3 separate regions of the Homo sapiens genome follow, and all the other regions are linked to region 3. Evidence: promoter capture Hi-C in 16 types of primary human blood cells and fetal thymus (Javierre and others, 2016). All regions are on one chromosome and are shown on one strand. Each heading gives the region's core, a stretch centred on a gene start or on the middle of the fragment in contact. The rest is flanking DNA. Distances are from core to core; before and after follow the strand shown. Region 1 has its middle 300 kb from the start of SORL1-AS1. Region 2 has its middle 240 kb from the start of SORL1-AS1. Region 3 holds the start of BLID (BH3-like motif containing, cell death inducer).

Region 1 (3,639 bases), core at 1,135-3,634, 360 kb before region 3:
ATGCAGTCAAAAAACACATGAAAAAATGCTCACCATCACTGGCCATCAGAGAAATGCAAATCAAAACCACAATGAGATACCATCTCACGCCAGTTAGAATGGCAATCATTAAAAAGTCAGGAAACAACAGGTGCTGGAGAGGATGTGGAGAAATAGGAACACTTTTACACTGTTGGTGGGACTGTAAACTAGTTTAACCCTTGTGGAAGTCAGTGTGGCGATTCCTCAGGGATCTAGAACTAGAAATACCATTTGACCCAGCCATCCCATTACTGGGTATATACCCAAAGGACTATAAATCATGCTGCTATAAAGACACATGCACACGTATGTTTATTGTGGCACTATTCACAACAGCAAAGACTTGGAACCAACCCAAATGTCCAACAAAGATAGACTGGATTAAGAAAATGTGGCACATATACACCATGGAATACTATGTAGCCATAAAAAATGATGAGTTCATGTCCTTTGTAGGGACATGGATGAAATTGGAAATCATCATTCTCAGTAAACTATCACAAGAACAAAAAACCAAACACCGCATATTCTCACTCATAGGTGGGAATCGAACAATGAGAACACATGGACACAGGAAGGGGAACATCACACTCTGGGGACTGTTGTGGCGTGGGGGGAGGGGGGAGGGATAGCTTTAGGAGATATACCTAATGCTAAATGATGAGTTAATGGGTGCAGCACACCAGCATGGCACATGTATACATATGTAACTAACCTGCACATTGTGCACATGTACCCTAAAACTTAAAGTATAATAATAATAAAAAAAAGAAAATTACCCATTAAAAAAAAAAGATGGCTAAACTTAACAATTTTTTGACTTTAAGATGGTGTGAAAGTGATATATATTCAGTAGAAACTGCACTACGAGTGCACATGCAACCATTCTGTTTCTCACTTTCAGTGTAGTATTCAATAAATTACATGAGATATTCAACACCTTGTTATAAAATAGGCTTTGTGTTACATGTTTTTGCCCGACCATAGGCTAATGTAAGCGTTCTGAGCATGTTTAAGGTAGGCTGGGCTAAGCTATGATGTTTGGTAGGTTAGGAGTATTAAATGCATTTTTAACTTGATATTTTCAACTTGTGATGAGTTTATCAGGATGTAACCCTGTTATAAGTCTAGGAGCATATGTACAGGAAATAGGATTGGGCAGAAACAGAAGTTGGGCTATTACATAGTCACAGCAAAACCTCAGCCTCCAACACCACAGAAAGCCTTGAAGCTGGGGTAGTCCTACAGTGTATCTTGAGTTGGGGCTGGGGAGTTGGCCTTTAGACCCTCTTATTTGCCACTATTGTATGTGTGCTGCCTTTGGTGGGAAGATTTTGGGCGAGATGGGCAGCTTAGGGCAATCTATGAAGGGGATCCAGCTTCCAACACTCACAGCAGCTAGGCAAATGATGCTTCAGTCCTCATAGGGGGGATCTGTGTGACCCACCACAGCATGCACTATAGCCTCTCTGAACAGGCGGTATTTGAGCTGAGACCTGGATGATGTCATCTCGCTTAATCCTGGGGTTGATATTGTCATATCCCCATTTTGTACCCCTGTTCATCTCTCAGAAGCTCAGAGAGGTGAAGTGACTTGCCCTAGGTCACACAGCTACCAGGAAGCAACACTTTGTGTCTCCTAGCCCAGAGCTTCATCTATGATGATCTGCCTATATCTTGTTTCATTTATGCTTGTACTTGTGAAAACACCAAGGGCACATATTTCTATAAACACTTTTATAAAACACTTGGGTATATTACCAGTAGAATATAGGATAAGCCTCTCTGATTTTTCTGATTTCACTGATTTCTCTGACAGGGCAAAGGCCATATGGCCATGTTTGCATCTTTGTTCAGATAAGTGATTAGATATCTCTGTACAAAATAGAGCTTTAGAATGGAAAAAGTTTTCAAATAATAGGCTGACAACTTAGTTAAAAGAAAAACAAGTGAAACAAATATCACTAGATGTTATTTGTTCCAAAAGTCAAAAGGCTAACCACAGCCATGCCAAACATCTGCAAATATTTTCAGCTTTTTAATCCCTAATCTTTCTCTGATTTGAGGTATGAGTGGAGAGTACTACTGGTACTCTCGTGATTCTTACAGTCACTTGATCAAAGCTTGTTTCTTGCCTGGCTTCCAACCTTTGACCCATTTGGCCTGTCTCCTGTCTAGGAGGGGCTTTGGGCTTTGGTAGGATAATGTTTTACATCTCATGATCCTGTGTAATTTGTAAACTGCTTTTACATAAGTTATTTCATTCGATTGTTGCAAAAACACTGGGAAGCATGGATCTGTATTTCCTTTTCATTGATAAGGGAACCAAAGCCCTGAGAAGTCACATGACTCAGGTACATCCCTTGAACTCAAGACTTTCAGTTATAAGACCATATATTCTTTCCATTACCTCTCCACTGATAGAGCTCTGAGCTAGAATTCTTGGAAGTGAGAGCAAGGAATGCATGAGAATAAAAAAGACATAGGAGTGAGAAAGAGTGGGCAGATTATTATTGAGGCAGGTCACAAAACTTCGTTAGGCCTGGGTTTCCTCATTGAAGTGACAACTGGACAAGGTAGCTGTCTAGGACTCTCCTTAGCTTTAAGCTTCTCTAGTCTTAAGGAAACAGCAAAGAAAAAAAAAAGAAAAAGACAAATCAAAACAATGAGACAGCTGCAACAACAACAAAGAACAGCTATGCTATCCCAGGTCTCTAGCCATCACAACTATAGCATGACTCTTTCCTTTGAATTTTCACTAGCAGCTGGAATGCCTCCATTTTGAACACTCCACTGCTCAGGTAGCTGCTGATTTCCTGGCTACTAATACCACTGTTTCACACATAATGGCGAACAGACTGAAGAGATCAAATTAAATCCATTTCCACTTTAGGATGGGAAATCTGTTTGGAACAATCAAGCAGGTTTGGGGCAGCAAGCATGGGTTTTCAATTGCCATCAAATGGGAAATTGCTTCATGTCAATTGGCATTAAGTGGACCGATTTGTGCCCAATTAATATACCGTGGTTGGAAAGAAAGAAAACAATTTCATTTAGCTAGATTGCTCTTCTCTGGGTTCTTCCTGCGTGGATCTCCAAGCAGTCTGCAGACATTCCCTCTTATTCAACCAATCCCCTCCCCCATTGTGAGCCACATCCTCCCTTGTTGAGAATGACAAGTTGGGAGCAGCTCACTTTAGCTTTTTTCATGCCTCAGAATCCCATTTAGTGAATGGCTACTGCAGGGTCCCAAATGAAACACATTAGTGGCGTACAAGAGTTAATACAGCTTTCAGTAGCATTTTATCCCCAACTAGAGCTCAGCTCTGGCCTTGGATAAAGCTAGCTTACTCCTAGCCATTAGACTGAAATATTGGGCCAAGACACTCCCAGAATTTTCCTGGAAGATGCCTGCTGGAGAATCCAAGGGATCAAAATAGTGCTGGGATGACAAGTCAGATGTGTGAAGACCTCAGTGACTCTGTAAAATCTGGAAGCCCCCCTGACAATGACAAACAACCACCGAGGAAACACAGGTCACCCAATCACTGCCAGCTGAAGCGCTGGCACAGAAACCCAGCTAAATCCATGCTCCAGAGACTCCCCAAATGAAAGAAC
Region 2 (3,347 bases), core at 748-3,247, 420 kb before region 3:
ATTAGGCCAAAGAAACACATCTCTAATTGTGGAATTTCTTGTGTCAGGGTGCTTAGTTGGGGAATATTTTTGGAAATAAGATGTCTTGGAATTTTTTAAAAAAATTGACACATAATGGGCTAGACGCGATGGCACATGCCTGTAATCACAGCACTTTGGGAAGCCAAGGTAGGTGGCTTGAGCTCAGGAATTCATGAGCAACCTGGGCAAGATGGTGAAACCCCATCTCTACAAAAAATACCACAATTAGCCTGATGTGGTGGGGCACACCTTTAGCCCCAGCTACTTGGGGGTCTGAGGCAGGAGAATCACTTGAGCCCAGGAGGTTGAGGCTGCAGTGAGCTGAGATCACACCACTGCACTCCAGCCTGAGTGATAAAGTGAGACCCTGTCTCAAAAAAAAATTGACACATAATAATTGTGCATATTCATGAGGTACATAGTGATGTTTCAATGAACATAATATGTAGTGATCAGTTGAGGGTAATTAGTACATCTGTCATCTCTCAAACACTTATCATTTCTTTGTGTTGGGAACACTCAAAATCCTCCTCCTAGCTGTTTGAAGCTGTATAATATATATATATATATTTTTTTTTTTTTGCTAATTTTTGTATTTTTAGTAGAGATGGGGTTTCACCATGTTGGCCAGGCTGGTCTTGAACTCCTGACCTCAGATGATCCACCCACCTCAGCCTCCCAAAGTGCTGGGATTACAGGCGTGAGCCACCGTGCCCGGCCAATATTATCATTAACTATAGTCATCCTCCTATAGCATGCTAGAACTTTCATTGTGTTTCTGAAATATCACTAATTCCAAGACGTCCCATCCCATCTAACTGTAACTGACCCATCAGGGTAGTTTTGGCATCTCCGGTGTCAGTGTAGATGATTGGAAATGTTAGTGTAACATGAATGAGGAGAGGTATGAAAACCCAGAGAAAGCAAGTATTTTGTGAGAAAGAGTCTGCTATCTTTGTAGCTCCCATAGTTCAAAATTCTTTCACCCCCAAAGTGCAGAAGTTAGTATTTTTCAATGTTTATAAGTAGCTGTGACAGTTCAGCTTCTGAACTCCAGTCCTAGCTTTGCTCTGGGACCACTACTGCTGGCTCTGGCTAAGAAAGAGACTCAGTGTCCCAGGTGCTGTGAGCCCTGAAAGCTTGTTCTCAGGGACATGGCCCTGTCGGGGGCCAGCCCCCATTTTCTTTTATCAGTGCCTAGGGGCTTTCGGTGTTTGCTAGAGATTTGGGCTGCTCCCAGCTATGGAGGATACTGGAAGGTGCCACATGCTACTGTCCAATATTCTATTTTTCTAATACTAGGCTTCTGTATTTTCCCAGTGCCCTGATGTTGTGTTTTCAATGTGGGGATGGAGCCTGTATTGATAAAGAGATCTTACTACCCCCATTCAAAGTACCAGAGAATTTGGATATCTCTCACAAGTTTTTATTTTTATTTTTCCAGCCTTTCGAAGGGCTGGAGAGCTGATCCAGTTACCACTCTTACATTTTTCCAGTTATCAGCTCAGAGAGGGCTCATGAAAGAGAGGGAGGGCAGGTAGGGAAAGTGAGAAAAATAACAAGCATTGCCTTCCACATCTAAAATGTTTTAGCTTTGCTTCCCTGCCGGGCTGAGGCTGGGAAGGACAAGCTCGATTAGCTCTAATAAAATCCTCTTCCTACAAGTCTTGATTCTCGGTAACTTTTCTTGGGTGGAGGGGACATGATAGATTCTCTTTAGATTTAAAGCCTCTTGCCCTGTGGGCATCCAATACCAAGACCCTTTCTTTCCCATGCACAGCCCCCTTATCTAGCCTGCTTGAGAAAAATACTTTATTCTTTTTTTTTTTTTGAGATGGAGCCTCGCTCTGTTATCCAGGCTGGAATGCAGTGGTGCGATCTCGGCTAACTGCAACCTCTGCCTCCTGGGTTCAAGGAGTTCTCCTGCCTCAGCCTCCCGAGTAGCTGGGATTACAGGTGCCCGCCACTGCGCATAGCTAATTTTTGTATTTTTAGTAGAGACGGGGTTTCACCGTGTTGACAAGGCTGGTCTTGAACTCCTGATCTCAGGTGATCCACCCGCCTCAGCCTCCTAAAGTGCTGGGATTCCAGGCGTGAGCCACCATGCCTGGCTGAAAAAAATACTTTATTCTTTTTTTTTTTTTTTTTTTTTTTTTTGAGACAGAGTCTCGCTCTGTCACCCAAAGCAGTGGAGAGCAGTGGCATGATCTTGGCTCTGCAAGCTCCGCCTCCCAGGTTCATGCCATTCTTCTGCCTCAGCCTCCCTAGTAGCTGGGACTACAGGCACCTGTTACCATGCCTGGATAATTTTTTTGTATTTTTAGTAGAGACGGTTTCACCGTGTTAGCCAGGATGGTCTCGATCTCCTGACCTTGTGATCTGCCCGCTTCAGCCTCCTAAAGTGCTGGGATTACAGGTGTGAGCCACTGCACCCAGCCAATACTTTACTCTTGACTCTCCATAGCTCTAGTCCCTCCTGCCCAAGCATTGGTGCAGATTATCTGAGGTGATTTGGTTTTGACCTCCCAATGCCTTGTTTCCCTGGGCATCCAGCCCACCTGGGCCTAAGCCCATAAGGTCTTCATAAAATATCCAGGTGGTCTGGCCTGCTGGATATTCCATAAATGGCCCTTAAATAAAGATGGTACCATTGGCTAAAATAATGTACCACGTCAGGGCAGGGAAATTGTGTAAGTGCCAAAAACTTCCCGGCCCACAGGGCGACTACAGCTCTCATCCCTTCTGGAACATACCACCAGCCTAGGGATGGGCTGTGACGAATATTTGGCCTCAGGCAACGCTGGAGCCCAGGGAAAGCTTTAGTTGCATGTGTGTTTTCTCACAGAATTATAAAGCCCAGCAGCTCTCGGTGCCAGAGGCTGCGGAGAGTTTCTGTGTTTTTCGACTATTCATTAGTGATTACATACCCCCCTGAACACCTGCAAGACCAATTCATAAAGCAAGCATTCATGGACTTTGGCAACAGCTTCATGGGAACTGCAGGGTACGGGGTACGGTCATTGTATCTCCAGATAAAAAACATTCTCTTACCAAGGAGGCCTCTGAAAATAGCAGGCTGCAATTTCAGTTCGACACCACGGGGTATTAAAAAGAAAAGTGTTACTTCACCTCGTCTCTTTATAAAGTCAGCACACTGTGAGGCTGTGGCATTCCTCGACAAATCCTCTTTCAGGACCCTTTCGGGAATGAGAAGAGGGGAGTGGTGGGCACTGCATTGATTGTGACGGGGCCAGCCCGGCCGTGGGTACGTGTGGCATGCTCTCCAGCGAGTGACACTGATTTACAGCAGGATAACAGGAAGTGTG
Region 3 (3,790 bases), core at 700-3,199:
ATGAAGGATCTCTATATGGTAAAGAAAAGAGAGGATGACATACTTCCCATGGTTTCTAGACAGCAGATTTCTTTACGCTGAAACCTGTGCTTCACCCACAATGCTGGACTCAGAACTACACGAACCTAAGCGTATTCTCTTATGATTTGGCCAGCCATCTTTGAGAACCGCTAAGACAATTTGGCAAACAGTCCTTCCACTGTTTTCCAACACACTAGAATATAAGGAAAGTTTGTTTCTTGTCAGTTTTTTCTACCTCAAAAGATCCCAGGCATGATTAAGTTTTTGCCTTTTCTTTCTCTTTCTCTTTTCTTTCTTCTACAGAAAATTCTTTACTTTAACAGCTTCAGGATCACTGATGCAATTTAGGAGTTTCTCCGATGCAATTGAGAAATGCAAAAGGGAGGTTCTATAGGCAGGGTCTTTTCTGCCTGGAGCTTTTAAGATCACTGAGGAAAAATAACTCAGATTCTCACTCTTTCTCTCCTCCCAGCTTCTGAGCTGCCCTGCGGGCTCAGTTCTCACTGTGGGTAGGTATGGGTCAGGGTAGTGGAAAGAAAGCAGAGAAGGGGACACTAGAATAGCTTAAAGTAAAAGCTCTGAAACACCTTTTCCATTTCCTTTTCCTTTTTTCCCCACAGATTTAGTTCTACTCACTCTAATAACAGAGTTCATAAAAGATTACTGGAATTTCTATTTCTTTCAGTTCCACAGGTTTTTTTTTTTGTAAAGGGAAAGAAAGGTTAGACTTATTTACAACACAATGACAATCTCTGATTCTTCACTTTAAGCAAATAAAGACGCCTAGTGAAATAAATGGATTGTGTTATTTAAAATTGAAAGCTTATGTGAACCACCACTCAGAAACATGCTTAAAAAATACAGAAAGAAAATGAAAACCCTGTGACTACACAAGATTATTCTGATGCCAAATGCTGAGTGTACAACTAAGTAGAGTAATTGTTAATAATATGACAAGTACCTACTTCCAATGTACAAATGAAATACACTCAAAACTGCAAAGGACAGTGGCACTGTACGCTGCCCTAAGGTTTACCATCACATAGCTTTTTGTTTTTTCATGAATTTGCAAGATTTGTTTTAATTAAATGCCATTTACTTTTAACTAGCCAGTTTATCCTTTTTAAAAATTTTATTGTTTCTCTGCACAATTTGAACCAAATTTGGAAAAGTTATGGGTAAAAGTGGGTAGAAAAGACTGTTAAGAATTGGGTCTTATTGAAATCAAGTTTCCTTCTGTGTTGTGCAGCCTGAATAATGGGCGAAATCTGTCCTAATATCTTGCTGCATCTGTCCTAACTCACTCCTTTTACAGGGCCTCAGCAGAGGAATTGCATAACAATGTAACTTGTATCCTGGTTAAATAGGAAGGTCTCTGAAGCACATGTCCAGGAACATTCCGCTTCATGGCAGAGGAGCCAAGATTGTACCTTTTAAGAGAAAGCACTGTTTCCTTAGGCAACATAGGTTCTTTGTTGGAACCCAAGAGCGCCTCCAGTGGCAGGCGTGCTTTTGCCTCTGGATAAATGGAACTGCCAGAGGCTCGCTCTATCCATCCTGTGTAGAGCACACACTCAGATTCTAGGATCTCAAAGAAATGTATTTCCTGGCCCTCTATAGGCAACAAAGTCACCATAATTTGAAGCTATTATGGAAGAAAGTCCAAAATTTAACTTCCATTCGCTTTATTCAGCAAGTTTTTATAAGGCAGATCTCATATGGACTATGCTTTGCATAAGCACGGTGTTAGATGGGAAGAAAAAAGTGGTGGGATCCTTCCTCCTCTTCCTTTCTTCCCAGCTCCTGCTATTCATGGAATTTCCCTTGATTTCAAGTGGCTACTCACCAAAATCCTCAACTGAAAACAGCTTCCAAGGGGTCATGTACTTATTCAATTCTCTTCTCTCTTTTCTCCAAACACAACATCATCTGACCAAGGTTTGCATGCATAAGCATTGCTAATTAACGATAAGTCTCCACGATGTCCTCCTCTCAGTAAGTTTGACACACAGACCTCAGCGAAGCTGTATGTACTGCCTAAAAGTAGGAAAGATCTCCACGTTGATTTCTGAATTGTAAAAGGCAGGGATATGTTTTGGACTTCTTGTCCCTTACTGTGAACAGACCTAAGAGTACTTACTTTATTTTTTAGAAAGAACCCGGAGCTGCTGATGTCTGAGGGAGTCGTTTCAACAGAGACTAGAATATCGAGAGAGAAAATTGATCCAGCTCTCTTGTCTGGTGCTTATAAAACATGAAAGTATCACCCTCGCCATGGCAGACCACAGGGAATGATCAGTGTGAATTGTTAAGTCCTCTTCTCAGTGATGCTTGCAAGCAATTTCCCTGGGGAAGCAACAAGTTCCTGACCACAGTGTTGTACACAAATAAATAAACAAAATGCTATTACTTTTTGTTCTTCACATTGGGAAAAGTTCAGAAACATCTTGTTTCAATTGATGGGCTGGAATTACAGAAACATTTTAATTTTGTCTTTCCTTGCTAGTTCTGTGCCTGAGATGTATTGGTAAAATGGAACATGAGTCATATTTCTAATTGGGAAAAGCCTGGTAATCATGGGCAACCCAGATCTGGGTGACTTACAGAGTATTTTTGTGTTGAGAGAGAAAAGACACTAAAAGTAGAAGTTTCTTACTTAGCAGCAGCAGAGAGGCTATAAGATTGAATCTGGTGTTTCACATGGCCTGTATCATGGTATAATGAGAAGGAATGTGTCTTGCACAAATTAGCCTATAGACCTTTCTAATCAGGACCAATATGTGACATATACAAAGGCAAGATCAGCTGTAAGGAAGGATTCACTCCTTTACCACCAAGCCATGGAGACTGCTTGAGTCATCATGGCCTTGGTCTCTTGATTTCCCTTATGTTATTTGAGTAGAAACTCAGGCACCAATGATGCCCCCAGTTAACCATAACCATAATGGTAGCATCCAATACCATTTTTAAAAAAGTCAGGGTTGTAGACAAAAGACTGATGTAGACCAGTGGAGAAGACAAGAGGGAGTTATGCAGCCTACTCTGAGAGCAAAGTCTGGTTTGGATCTTCTCTGCTACTTTTGTACATTTCATGCTAGAGGCAGAACAAGTATCCAGGGAACACTTTGGAACTTTCCTAAATTTACAGAGGGGCCTGTAACATTCAATTAGGGGGAACACAGAATGTTCTACTCTAGCAAAATTTATAGGTAGTATAAGAAATTCCATCAAGTGTCTTGTGGAAAACTGAATGCATAAAAGTAAGGATGTGGATAATGGGATCATTCAATATAGATTTCAAACCAAAGTCCGCTGCTTAATAACTCTGAACTTGGGCAGAGTACTTAACCTTACTGAACATCAGATTCTTTATTTGTAAAATGGGGACCATAATATCTTCTTTGCTCAATTATTTGGGGGATTAATGAGGGAAGGAATATAAATTATCACAAGATCTGGTATATAGTAAGAACTTTGCAATGTTTTTTTCCTCTCTTTATTGATGAATGCTTTCCAGATTTCTATTTGGCCTCTTCTCTTTGAGTTTATAGAATACTAATTTTCTGTACTTTGTGGCAAATCTATTCAATTTAACAGTTTTTAAAATTTATTATAATGTGAGACATGGAATATGAAGAATAAATAATGCATACCATTTTTATAAAAGAGACTCATAATCTACTGAGAAAGCTAGAAACATGCTGGGTCACTATACATTAGACAAGGTTAAGTGGAATAATTTGGTTATTTAAACATTTGGGAGAAGGGG

The links. The method cuts DNA at HindIII sites, captures the fragments that hold promoters and counts their contacts. A CHiCAGO score of 5 or more calls a contact.
Region 1: a fragment that was not itself captured here is called in contact with the fragment with the promoter of BLID in region 3 in 2 of 17 cell types (M1 macrophages and monocytes); the score reaches 5.8 in M1 macrophages.
Region 2: a fragment that was not itself captured here is called in contact with the fragment with the promoter of BLID in region 3 in 3 of 17 cell types (M0 macrophages, monocytes and M2 macrophages); the score reaches 7.0 in M0 macrophages.

The regions. Positions count from the first base shown.
Region 1 is chr11:121,752,678-121,756,316 of GRCh38, forward strand. No RefSeq gene overlaps it. Among named protein-coding and RNA genes, the nearest start is that of SORL1-AS1, 300 kb to the left of the region's middle. The HindIII fragment of the contact is 484 bases long and covers 2,143-2,626 here.
Region 2 is chr11:121,693,492-121,696,838 of GRCh38, forward strand. No RefSeq gene overlaps it. Among named protein-coding and RNA genes, the nearest start is that of SORL1-AS1, 240 kb to the left of the region's middle. The HindIII fragment of the contact is 1,678 bases long and covers 1,159-2,836 here.
Region 3 is chr11:122,114,266-122,118,055 of GRCh38, forward strand. BLID (BH3-like motif containing, cell death inducer) reads right to left here and starts at 1,950. Exons shown (of 1, transcript NM_001001786.3): 1 at 1,075-1,950. The coding sequence starts at 1,657. The coding sequence ends at 1,331. All of the region lies in intron 4 of MIR100HG (mir-100-let-7a-2-mir-125b-1 cluster host gene), which reads right to left. The HindIII fragment of the contact is 7,623 bases long and covers 842-3,790 here.